4 separate regions of the Homo sapiens genome follow, and all the other regions are linked to region 2. The links are contacts of gene promoters, found by promoter capture Hi-C in blood cells and fetal thymus (Javierre and others, 2016). All regions are on one chromosome and are shown on one strand. Each heading gives the region's core, a stretch centred on a gene start or on the middle of the fragment in contact. The rest is flanking DNA. Distances are from core to core; before and after follow the strand shown. Region 1 overlaps RPRD2 (regulation of nuclear pre-mRNA domain containing 2). Region 2 holds the start of GOLPH3L (golgi phosphoprotein 3 like). Region 3 overlaps FALEC (focally amplified lncRNA regulator of ECM1). Region 4 overlaps RPRD2 (regulation of nuclear pre-mRNA domain containing 2).

What was found. Contacts are between HindIII fragments. The CHiCAGO score rates a contact against its expected background, and 5 or more counts as called.
Region 1: a contact is called between a fragment that was not itself captured here and the fragment with the promoter of GOLPH3L in region 2, in 1 of 17 cell types (neutrophils). The highest score is 7.4, in neutrophils.
Region 3: a fragment that was not itself captured here is called in contact with the fragment with the promoter of GOLPH3L in region 2 in 1 of 17 cell types (neutrophils); the score reaches 5.6 in neutrophils.
Region 4: a fragment that was not itself captured here is called in contact with the fragment with the promoter of GOLPH3L in region 2 in 1 of 17 cell types (neutrophils); the score reaches 6.1 in neutrophils.

What each region holds. Positions count from the first base shown.
Region 1 is chr1:150,473,998-150,476,794 of GRCh38, forward strand. It overlaps RPRD2 (regulation of nuclear pre-mRNA domain containing 2), which reads left to right. Exons shown (of 11, transcript NM_015203.5): 11 at 1-2,569. Among named protein-coding and RNA genes, the nearest start is that of TARS2, 12 kb to the right of the region's middle. The HindIII fragment of the contact is 9,461 bases long and covers 1-2,797 here.
Region 2 is chr1:150,695,824-150,698,576 of GRCh38, forward strand. It overlaps GOLPH3L (golgi phosphoprotein 3 like), which reads right to left and starts at 1,331. Exons shown (of 5, transcript NM_018178.6): 1 at 1,169-1,331. It overlaps HORMAD1 (HORMA domain containing 1), which reads right to left. Exons shown (of 15, transcript NM_032132.5): 15 at 2,237-2,753. The HindIII fragment of the contact is 16,001 bases long and covers 1-2,753 here.
Region 3 is chr1:150,527,064-150,529,763 of GRCh38, forward strand. All of the region lies in intron 3 of FALEC (focally amplified lncRNA regulator of ECM1), which reads left to right. Among named protein-coding and RNA genes, the nearest start is that of FALEC, 13 kb to the left of the region's middle. The HindIII fragment of the contact is 1,575 bases long and covers 507-2,081 here.
Region 4 is chr1:150,452,053-150,454,752 of GRCh38, forward strand. All of the region lies in intron 7 of RPRD2 (regulation of nuclear pre-mRNA domain containing 2), which reads left to right. Among named protein-coding and RNA genes, the nearest start is that of TARS2, 34 kb to the right of the region's middle. The HindIII fragment of the contact is 9,549 bases long and covers 1-2,700 here.

The DNA.
Region 1 (2,797 bases), core at 196-2,695, 220 kb before region 2:
GAGTGACTACAGTATGTAAAATAAGGAAAGGAAGCATTAATGGTGTGATGTGACCTGCCTGTTTTTTTGTAAACAAGAGAATAGGAAATGTTTTCAAGGTAGTTTCACATGTCTTGCACCAAGCTCATGCCTCTTGCTTTTCCTTTTTGACTTTATCTCCCTCAGTTTTTCTTCTGCTGTGGCCAGAAAGACAGTCACTACAGTTGACTATTGATACAAAGGTGCAACAGAAATATTATCCCTGCATTTTTAAATATAAGAAGTAGACATTAATTTTACCATGGTGCCTCCCTAATGTAAGTGATATTTATTGGTGGTTTTCAACAAAGGTTAACTATTAAAGAAAGAAATATTTGTCTTTATCTTCCTTTTCCCCTTGCCTCAGTCGTGTTATTCACCCCTATTCTTGATATTTTAAAGGAGGAGATTCAGTAGCATTTTCCTTTATATTATACACATGTGTCTATCCCATTTCAAGGCTCAAGTCTTACCCCCACCTCTCGCTCCCAATAGGAAATAAAGACCATTTCTGCCCTTAGTTGTTTTACATGCAAGATAAGTGCTTTCCTTCTCCCTGGACTGAAAGACTTGTTTGTATTTCTACATCTAGTACTTGGGAAATAGACAATCACTGTACTTTGAGTGTTTATATCTTTATATCTAGGGACACTGAAAAGTAAATGTTGCTTTACTACAATTTTTTTTTAATTTAGTGTCTTACCCCAAGGCATACTCAACTGATAATCTCCAGCTAGATGAGTAAAACAGTATGTGTTTAGTTTTCCAGAGAATTCTGGCAAGTTTCATATTTTCTTCCAAGTTAGTATAGAACTAACTATAGGAAGTATGGGGTTGCTTTTTCCTCCAGTAGAATATTAAAGATGGGGGAGGGTGGGCAATGTAGTGACAGAAAATGATTCTCTCAGAATGAACTTTTCAGAGAAAGAGCAGCATAAACCAGGTGCACATCATGATTTGGGAGTTTTTGCGTAATTTATTCTGTTATTTATTTGGGCTCGCCATGTGTTCTGGGGTTAGGATGCTGCAGGTCATTCATCTTCTTAATGCCTGTCTGGTCTTAAGCCAACTGTTCTTTCTTTCCTCGACCCTCTCTGCCCTGTAGCTCTCCCCACAAAAATGCATGATACCATGACCTTACGTGTGGGATGGGGTATGTAGTGTAGCAAAGAAAAGAAAGTATAGTTATATTGAGTCCTAAGACATTTGTTAGGGAAAAGCATAAGAGAAAATGGGGTGGGAGGTGGGGAAATGATATTTGACTTTCAAAATTGAAATAGGTTTTTTTTTTGCAGAAATTAAATGGGATGTTTTTCATTCTAGAATAAAAGAATGTGAATTCTCTTTGCTGCTCTTGTTTAAGCTAAAAGTAGTGTTTACTTGATAAGGCTCTCTGACCATTTAATTTTTATCAGAAAATGTGGGGATGTCAGGAAAGTGGCTTCCTGAACGTTGGGGCGGGATAATTGTCCTCAAAAGTATGATGGTTAATACATGAAAGGAAGACTTTGTTGGACAGTTTCGAAGGTGGGCTTTTAAGGAGTTGGGTTTTTGTGGGGTACTTTTTTGTTTTTTAAGCCACAAAATCCTCAATATGTTTGTTTTAGGATGGAAGTGAGGATTTGTATGAGACTGTCAGCTATTAATTTTAAGGAAATCTTAAAATTTACATTTACATCAGTAAATGAAGATGACAGTGTGTATATATGTGATAAATAGTGAAACAGAAAAGACAGTTCTGGTATTCATAACGTGAAAGAAAGGGGTTTTATTCTTTCTGTGTCTGTGATTTAAAACTCCGTGACCATGCTCTGACTTTTGTATTTCAACCTGAGTTTAAACAAATAAACAAGATATTTTTTAAAGAAAGCATAACATAGTGTGTCTTAGCAAGGACATGATTCATATGGAAGCAGAATGTGAGAAGTTGTAAGGTCCTTGGTACTCACTGTAAAATCACAGACAGAGAATTGGTAGGGGTTGTGAATACACTAGTACCACTTAAAGTTCAGTGATACAGTTCAGAAATAGGGTCCTTAAGTATTTTGAAAGAGTTTACTCTTCAGTCAGCTTAGATGAGAGCTCTCTCCCTGCTCCCCTCTACCCTCTCAAAAGTTGAGAGTAAATAGAATTTGGTTTGATTCCAGGGAGGGGAAAATAAGCAGAGAATAGGACTTTTATACTTTCCAATACCAGGAATAAAATGTTTGTGATATATATGGGTCCAGCAAACCTATCGAGATAATGTGAATACGATAAACTTCCTAATGGCAGGATATTCACTCTCAATCCTGAAGTTACCGGTTCCTGCAGAATTGAGCTTCAGCTGTTACTGTTTTGAAGCCGCTGTAAATTACTGCTTTCCCCAGTTCCCCCACTATTTTTTTTAAGTGGGCGGGGGCGCCTGTTAAGATCTAAAATAGATATGTTGGATTGATATTCTCACGTGTTCGGTGTGGAAAACAAAACAAGTACATGCTTTAGAAGCAACAACAATGAAATCCTTTTGAAATGTGTGTTAATATCGTTTAATAAAATAACTAGTTTGAAAGGTTTGACATTTTTCTTTGAGACGGGCTTGGACCAGGGGCCCCTGGCTTCCTAGTGAGTGCAAATAGGAGGGAACTTCTCAGGAGCTGAAACCGCTGCTTTGTGGAGCAGGCCTGTGGTTGGAAAACCTAAGTTTTCTCTAGCAAAGACCCAGCCTGACTGTCCAGGGCCGAAGGTGAAACCAACTAGAGAATGCAGAAGGAAAAGCCTGGATATATCTCAGAAGATA
Region 2 (2,753 bases), core at 81-2,580:
TATCTTGCAAATACACAAGGAGCTGCAAACAAAAATTACTGGCAAGAGAGTGTTGAAAGATTAACAAATTTTCTCAATTTAAAAAAAAAAGTCAAAGAACATGTCTTTTATTCTATGTACTACGGTCAAAAGAAACTGCACTAAATCATTTGTGATAAAGTTTATAGTTAGCATACTTTATTTTATATAAATCTAGATATCAGTTTTTAAGATAATATATAACAAATATTTTAAATCAGCAATTATATAAAGGAGTATCTTTTTCAAGATCAAAATAATGGTATTTAAGAGTTGCTATGACTGGACTCGTTTCTACTCCTCTAGCAATATTTCCCATTGCTCCTAATAAGTAGTGTTGCCAGACTTTTTCTCAAAAATGTCTCATGCTTTCTTTCTGCTTCTGCTCCTCTGTACTTGCTGGGGTCTTCACCCTTTTCTCTTCCTCTTTACATTCTACCCATTCTTTAAAGGCCTTGTGAAGGCCTTTAAGTGACCTCCTCTTTTCTATTACCTATGTGTCTCATGGCCACTCCCTCAGCTGTTTCACAGAGCTTTATTTATACTCACTTCCTTTAAAGTATTTATTATAGTCTTTCTCTTGGTATAGCTGTCTCTCAACTGTAAACTTCTTAAGAACAGGGATATTGTCTTCTTGGGTTTATATATTCTCCATAGCAACTAGCACTGTCTTTAACATTGTTATTGCTCGATAAATTTATATTGATTAAAATGAATACTCAGAAGTGCATGTGAACATTTAAAATAGAAATACAAATGAAGTGAGCTACAAAAGTTTTTTTGTACAAGGGTATATTTCAAATATAATTTGTTATGGGAGGTGGGAAGAAAAGTGAAGGAGGAAGAGAACCATGAAATAAATTCTTAAGCGCACTAAGCCTATCTGGCACTGTGAATAGGGACTATTTCCTAAACCAATCCAAGAAACTTTAAACCTTCGCGGGGCAGGGGGGGAGGGGGAGAGGGGGCGGTTTCTTTGAGAAATTAGTTTCATCTGCACATTTACTAGTTAAAAATCCTACTTGAAAGAAAACAAATGGCCCAAATGAATACAAACCTTTCCCTCCCATAAAATAATAATTTTAAAAAATAGAGGTTTTTTTTGGTGGGGGGAAGGGACGTTAGGAAATGTAATTTTCTCGTTGCTTACCTGATGTTACTCCTGGGTTATGGCTGGACGCAGGCTGTAGCTTGTGCTGTATTTTAGAAGGACACCTGTTCTCCCCACCCCACCCCCGTCCTAGTAGGTGAAAAACTTAGCCACGCAGAGAGCACAAACTTCCTGATCCTTCGATGCAGAGAAGGAATAACACATCAGCTTCCTCAGGATCACTAGGCAACCTACCTTGGTGTTTCTTCATTGCGCCAATCAGAAATCACCAAGGTTGAGTCCCGCCAATCGGAGCTCACAGGGGGAGGCTCTCCCCCAGCTATTCTGTTGCGATCCAGACAAACACCACCAAAAGGAGGCAGGTTTGCGTTCAACCTGACAGCTGGTCAATCCAATGAAGGAACCTTGGTGGAAGAGAGGAAAGAGGGCTGCGCTCCCCACCCCCATTAAACCAGCCAATCAAAGCGCTGAGTGAGCTAACATGGGCTGCCAATCTCGAAAGGTTTCTGTGGGTTAATTTCAGCGTAGCAGGTGTGTTGCTGTAGTAGCGTATACTGGGACAATTAAGTGAGATGTGTTGGGATCCAAGCAATACAGCTAAAAATAAATAAATATTTTTACATTGGTTGTTTCTGACAGTCAGTTTATCCTTGACTTGACTGTTCCAGAAAAACATGATCTGGGTCAGTTTGTGTACGTTTATATGGTTTACCTTAAACAGGATGAATACATTTCTACCATCGCATATGTACCAGCATTCCCTATAGCGCTTATTACTGACAAACCCATGGATGTGTATGTTTTTGGAATATGGCTGCTGAAACTACAAGCGGCAAACAGACCAAGTTTTAAGTCTTCCTTTTTCTAAAGCAAAGAAAGCAGGCAAGGCTGGAACTAGCTCCCAGGTTTCTCATTAAAAGCACAGCATTTTTCATACTACCACTCAAAAATTCTAGAAAGTGTGCTCAACTCTTCTTGCAAAGTAATAGCTACCGAAATCATCTAAAAATTAGTATTCCCTATCCCCCCATCCTCCTACCAGCCTTTCAAATGAATGAAGCCATATTTCCTGCTACTTAAATAAAAATTAGAAGCGATAAAAGGGCCTACGTACTGAACAATATTTTATTTATGCTGCAAAAAATGCCATACTTTAAAAATCAGTCTTTTTGTCCTGTAAAAAAAAGCATAGTAAAGGTAAAGCACCAATTCTTAAATTGTACATTATATATTAAAATGTTAATACATTATGTCAAAATATTGAAGAACATTGTTTTAATAACAGCACAATGACAAAAGAGCCAGTTAAATGGTATAATTTTAACATAAGTAAAAAGTGAATCCATACCAAATTTTAATACCAAAGTAAACATTACTGTTTAGAAAAATGGCATTAGAGGGCCTTAACAGTTAGTATATATTTAAAGGAAATATTAAGTAGGTAATGAACAAAATCAATTTTGAAATTTTACTTATTACCGAATCAATTATGACATTTGTACTTTTGCTTTTATTCAAAAGTTCTATTGGATTTATCTCAAGATTAAGGACCACAATATGACAGTCAGCCAAAAACTTAGTTTTAGTGTACAAACTGCTTTAAACTACATATACATCTTCAGAG
Region 3 (2,700 bases), core at 44-2,543, 170 kb before region 2:
CGAGAAGTTGGGACTACAGGCACCCACCACCACACCCAGCTAATTTTTTTTATTTTTAGTAGAGACGGGGTTTCACCATATTGGTCAGGCTGGTCTCGAACTCCTGACCTCAGGTGATCAGCCTGGCTCAGCCTCCCAATGTGCTGGGATTTCAGATGTGAGCCACCACGCCTGGCCTATTTTTATTTTTTATTTATTTACTTATTTATTTTTGAGATGGAGTCTTGATCTGTTGCCCAGGCTGGAGTGCAGTGGTATGATCTTGACTAACTGCAACCTCTGCCTCCCGGGTTCAAGCGAGTCTCCTGCCTCAGCCTCCCGAGTAGCTGGGATTACAGGTGCCCACCACCACGCCTGGCTAATTTGTGTATTTTTAGTAGAGATGAGATTTCACCCTGTTAGCCAGGCTGGTCTTAAGCTCCTGACCTCAGGTGATCTGCCCGCCTCAGCCTCCCAAAGTGATGGGATTACAGGTGTGGGCCACTGTGCCTGGCCAAAAACTTAAAAGCTTGAAAAACTCATTTTAAAAGCACCAGAGGCTGGGCATGGTGGCTGGTCTGGAACCTGGAATTTGAGACCCACCTGGCCAACATGGGGCCAATATGGCGAAACCCCACCTCTACTAAAAATACAAAAGTTAGCTGGGCGTGGTGGTGGGCACCTGTGATTCCAGCTACTCGGGAGGCTGAGGCAGGAGAATCGCTTGAACCCGAGAGGCGGAGGTTTCAGTGAGCCAAGATCGCACCACTCCACTCCAACCTGGGCGACGTAGCAAGGCTCCATCTCAAAAAATGTATAAGTAAATAAATAAATAAATAAAAGTTTTCATTGGTAGGAGGACTTGCTTGAATTATCTAGTCATATATATGCAGAATTGGTGGTCCCATTGACCCTCAAGTGAGGCATCCAATAGGCAGCAAATATTTTCAGGGAAGGTGGGGTCCTCGCTGTATTATGGAAGAAATCATGATTGGTCTAAGTCAATCATGGTAACCCTCTTCCTCTTCGCCTATCCGGGGTGGGCATATGACCCAGGTTTCACCAAAAAGACACAAGAGGAAGACTCCAGGGAACTTGTGGATGAATTTTTGTGCCCTTATAAAAGAGAGCTGTTGAGGAACCAGAGCCCTTTCTCTTTTTTTTTGCATTGGGATGATGTTATATAAGGAAGGCACAGTTGATTCTGTGGCAACATCTTATAACTGAGAGAGAAGTGAAGAAAATTGCAAAGATGTCAACTCCTGCTTCTTGATATTGTGAAGCCTCTTAAAAACTTTGGAACTTTTTGCTTCTGGGCTTCTTGAGGAAACAGTCAACATCCTTATGGTTTTGCTGTTAGTCAGGTTTTCTGTTATGTGTAGGCCAAAGCATTCCTAGCCGACATGTCATCCCTGAAGTCTCAGCTTTAAATGTCATTCCTCAGGGAGACCTTCCTGAAACCCCCAGATCAACACATTCTGTAACACTCCCCACTGTCCCTGAGTGGTCCTCATCACACTTGTAATTATTATTACTATTAATTTTTTTTTTTTTTTTGAGATGGAGTCTCACTCTGTCGCCCAGGCTGGAGTGCAGTGGTGCAATCTCGGTTCACTGCAAGCTCCGCCTCCCAGGTTCACGCCATTCTCCTGCCTCAGCCTCCCGAGTAGTAACTGGGACTACAGGTGCCCACCACCACGCCCAGCTAATTTTCTTTCGTATTTTTAGTACAGATGGGATTTCACCATGTTAGCCAGGATGGTCTCAATCTCCTGACCTCTTGATCCGTCTGCTTCGGCCTCCCAAAGTGCTGGGATTACAGGCGTGAGCCACTGCGCCTGGCACTTGTAATTATTAATATTTATTGAATGATGGTCTTTGTCTCAGGGCTATTTGCTCCACCAGAGCAGAGACTATGACAGGCATCCCAGAGCCTAGCCCAATGACAGGCACAGGAGCCACTAAATAAATAGCAAAAAAAAAAAAAAAAAAAAAAATCAAAGGATCTAGAGCACAGGTGGAGGGAGAAGCAGGATAAATCCGTGAAAGGTGTGAATTGAAATATGTGCAGCTGGGCTTCTGCTATCACATGGAAACTTTAAAGCTTAATGAATCATTAAAGAAGGGTTGGAATGACCATTGTGGGAACGGGGTGTGAGTGTTTATCTGGTACAGTAAGAGCTGCCAAGTAGTGTTAAAGGCCCAGCTGGGATTAGAAACCATACGTGTGCATTGGCAGAAACCAGCAGAATTAGAAGATTTCCTCCAGCAGCGTTCAGCCATCTGAGTGTGGGAGAGAAGCTGGGTAATTAGGTCAGCCCCAAAATGGGGGCTTGGTGGGCAGGCTGCTGCCTTTTGTTCCTTTCTCAGATGAAGTAAATGAAAATAGATGTGGAATTTTGTTTTCCTTGTCCCCAAAATGAAACCTTGTAGAACTCAAAGGCTTGCCCTTTGGCCCTAGACTGGAGCCAAAAAGGCTGAAGCATTTACCCCAAACGTCTTCCCCTATGGCCTGCTTGCCTAGCAGGGCCCATGGAAAGATTTGTGGGGATCTGTGATTTTTTTTTTTTTTTGAGGTGGAGTCTCGCTCTGTCACCCAGGCTGGAGTGCAGTGGCGCCATCTCGGCTCACTGCAAGCTCCGCCTCCCGGGTTCACGCCATTCTCCTGCCTCAGTCTCCCGAGTAGCTGGGACTACAGGCGCCTGCCACCACGCCCGGCTA
Region 4 (2,700 bases), core at 50-2,549, 240 kb before region 2:
AATCGCCTGAACCCAGGAGGCAGAGGTTGCAGTGAGCCGAGATCACACCATTGCACTCCAGCCTGGGCAAGAGAGCAAGACTCTGTCTCAAAAAAAAAAAAAAAAAAGAGAGAGAGAGAAACTGAGAAACTGGACAAAAGCACAGGGAGAACATCATGTGACAGCATAGGCAGATATTGAAGCCATGCAGCTACAAGCCAAAAACATCAAGGATTGATGGGCACCACCAGAAACCAGGAAATGGCAAGGAAGAATTCTGCCCAGTGTCAGAGAGAGCACAGCCTGCTGACATCTTAATTTTGGACCACTAGCCTTCAGAGACAATAAATTTCTGTTGTTTTAAGCCACTCATTTTGTAGTACTTAATTAACCACTGCCCTAAGAAACTAATATACCAATTAATGAATGTTTTGTGAGGAAGTATTTTGAAACTATGTAAATATCTTGTTCCTTACCAGACTTTCGATGTATTCATTTATTTATATGAATGGACTTGAATCCTATTTACTCACTGTTTTAATTCATTACTACTAATATTTACTTTGATGCTCAGTTTGACAAAGTTTTGGTCAATGTGAGCTCCTTTCTGTGTTCTTTTGACATATCCCCTTTTTTTTTTTTTTTTTTTTTTTTTGAGACGAACTTTCCACTCTTGTTGCTCAGGCTGGAGTGCAGTGGCACGATCTCGGCTCACTGCAACCTCCGCCTCCCAGGTTTAAGCAATTCTCCTACCTCAGCCTCCCAAGTAGCTGGGATTACAGGCATTCGCCACCACGCCTGCCTAATTTTATATTTTTAACAGTGATGGGGTTTCACCATGTTGGCCAGGCTGGTCTCAAACTCCTGACCTCAGGTGATCCGCCTGCCTCTGCCTCCCAAAGTGCTGAGATTACAGGCGTGAGCCACTGGCACCACTTTTTTACACTACTAATTACTTTTCTAACAGTGTAAAACCTTGCTCCCTTGTCTTCAATATATTTACTTTTTTTTTTTTTTTGGAGACGGAGCCTCGTGCTGTTGCCCAGGCTGGAGCGCGGTGGCACAATCTTGGTTCACTGCAACCTCTGTCTCCCGGGTTCAAGCGATTCTCCTGCCTCAGCCTCCTGAGTAGCTGGTACTACAGGCGCACACCACCACGCCCAGCTAATTTTTGTATTTTTAGTAGAGACGAGGTTTCACCATATTGGTCAAGCTGGTCTTGAACTCCTGACCTCATGATCTGTGCTCCTTGGCCTCCCAAAGTGCTGGGATTACAGGCGTGAGCCACCGCGCCTGGCCTCAGTGTTTTTACTTAATCAGTTGTGGCCAGTCTCCCAGCACTTCCATCTCTCTCCAACCACCTTTATGGGTTTTCTTTTTATCCTGCTTAGACTCCAACATCCTTTGCAATGCCTCCCTCCCATGCAGACATTTTTCTCATTTTTGGGTCCATTCTCTCTAAGCCACTGAGTTTTTTCCCTCAGCTCCAGCTAATGGGTTGTGGACTAAATTGCTCACAGAGGAAGGGAAAGAAATTTTTCACTATTTTCATGAACATATTAATCATAGCTGTTTGGTTTTTGTCATATAGTTCCAATATTGGCTTCACCTGTTACGGGTATGTTAGTGGTGTTTGGTGTTTTTGTTTTGTTTTGTTTAGTGCCCAGAGGTAGCTGCTAATGTAGTGTCTGCATTTTCTTTTTAGCCATTTGGACCTATCTCTTAGCATGCCTGCTAATTTTTTATCGAATGCTGAACATTAAAAGATTATGGAGTCTCTGGATGATTTTTCTTCCTTTAGAGACAGTTCACCCTTGTTTTGCTAGGCAGATATTGAGGCTGGTCATATTAATTAAATCTGAAACCTAACTGACTCGAGGCTGAATTGCAGTTTAAGCAAGCCTTGTTCCACCTCTGGTTCACTCCAGCTTCTGGAATGTAGATTTTTCCCACAGAGAGCCTGGAATGATCACTAAGCCCCCTTCTCCATGGCATGATTTGAACTCTCTAGTCCTTGTTTCCTCATCACTATGAGACCACTGCTTTTTCCAAGGTTTTCTGCTTGGCTTCTTCCCTCTCAAGCAGCTTCAGAATTCAGCAAATATCTTGAAGGAAAAATTGTTGAGCCAGTTCTCTCTTTCATCAGAATCTTGGCCTTTCAGTCCTCTAATTTTTGCCTGTTAAGACCAGCAAGACTGTTAAAAGCTCTGCTTTTTTTCTTTTTATTTAATAGTGGCCCTCTCTTGTCCTTTTTGCCTTAATTCTCAGCTTCTTGCCTAGCTCCCCAGAATCAGCAGAATCCTAAGAGAAAATAATGTCAGCTTAGCTCTCCATGCTTTCCCTCTGATAGTATTTGCCACTTAGTTTTTGGTGGCCTTAGCACTCTCCAGTATATTCAAACAAGTGTGTCTGTGTATCTGGCTTTTCTACTTGTTCTTGATGGGAGCATTAGTCTACTATAAGCTACTGAGTTATATCAAAAGCAAAAAGCTAGATTCTAATGTATTCATATCTTTTTAAAAATAATGCTTCTTGGCTGGGCACAGTGGCTCACACGTGTAATCCCAGCACTTTGGGAGGCTGGGGCAGGCGGATCACCTGAGGTCAGGAGTTCGAGATCAACCTAGCCAACATGGCGAAATTTTGTCTCAACAAAAAATACAAAAATTAGCCAGGAGTGGTGGTATGTGCCTGTAGTCCCAGCTACTTGGAGGGCTGAGG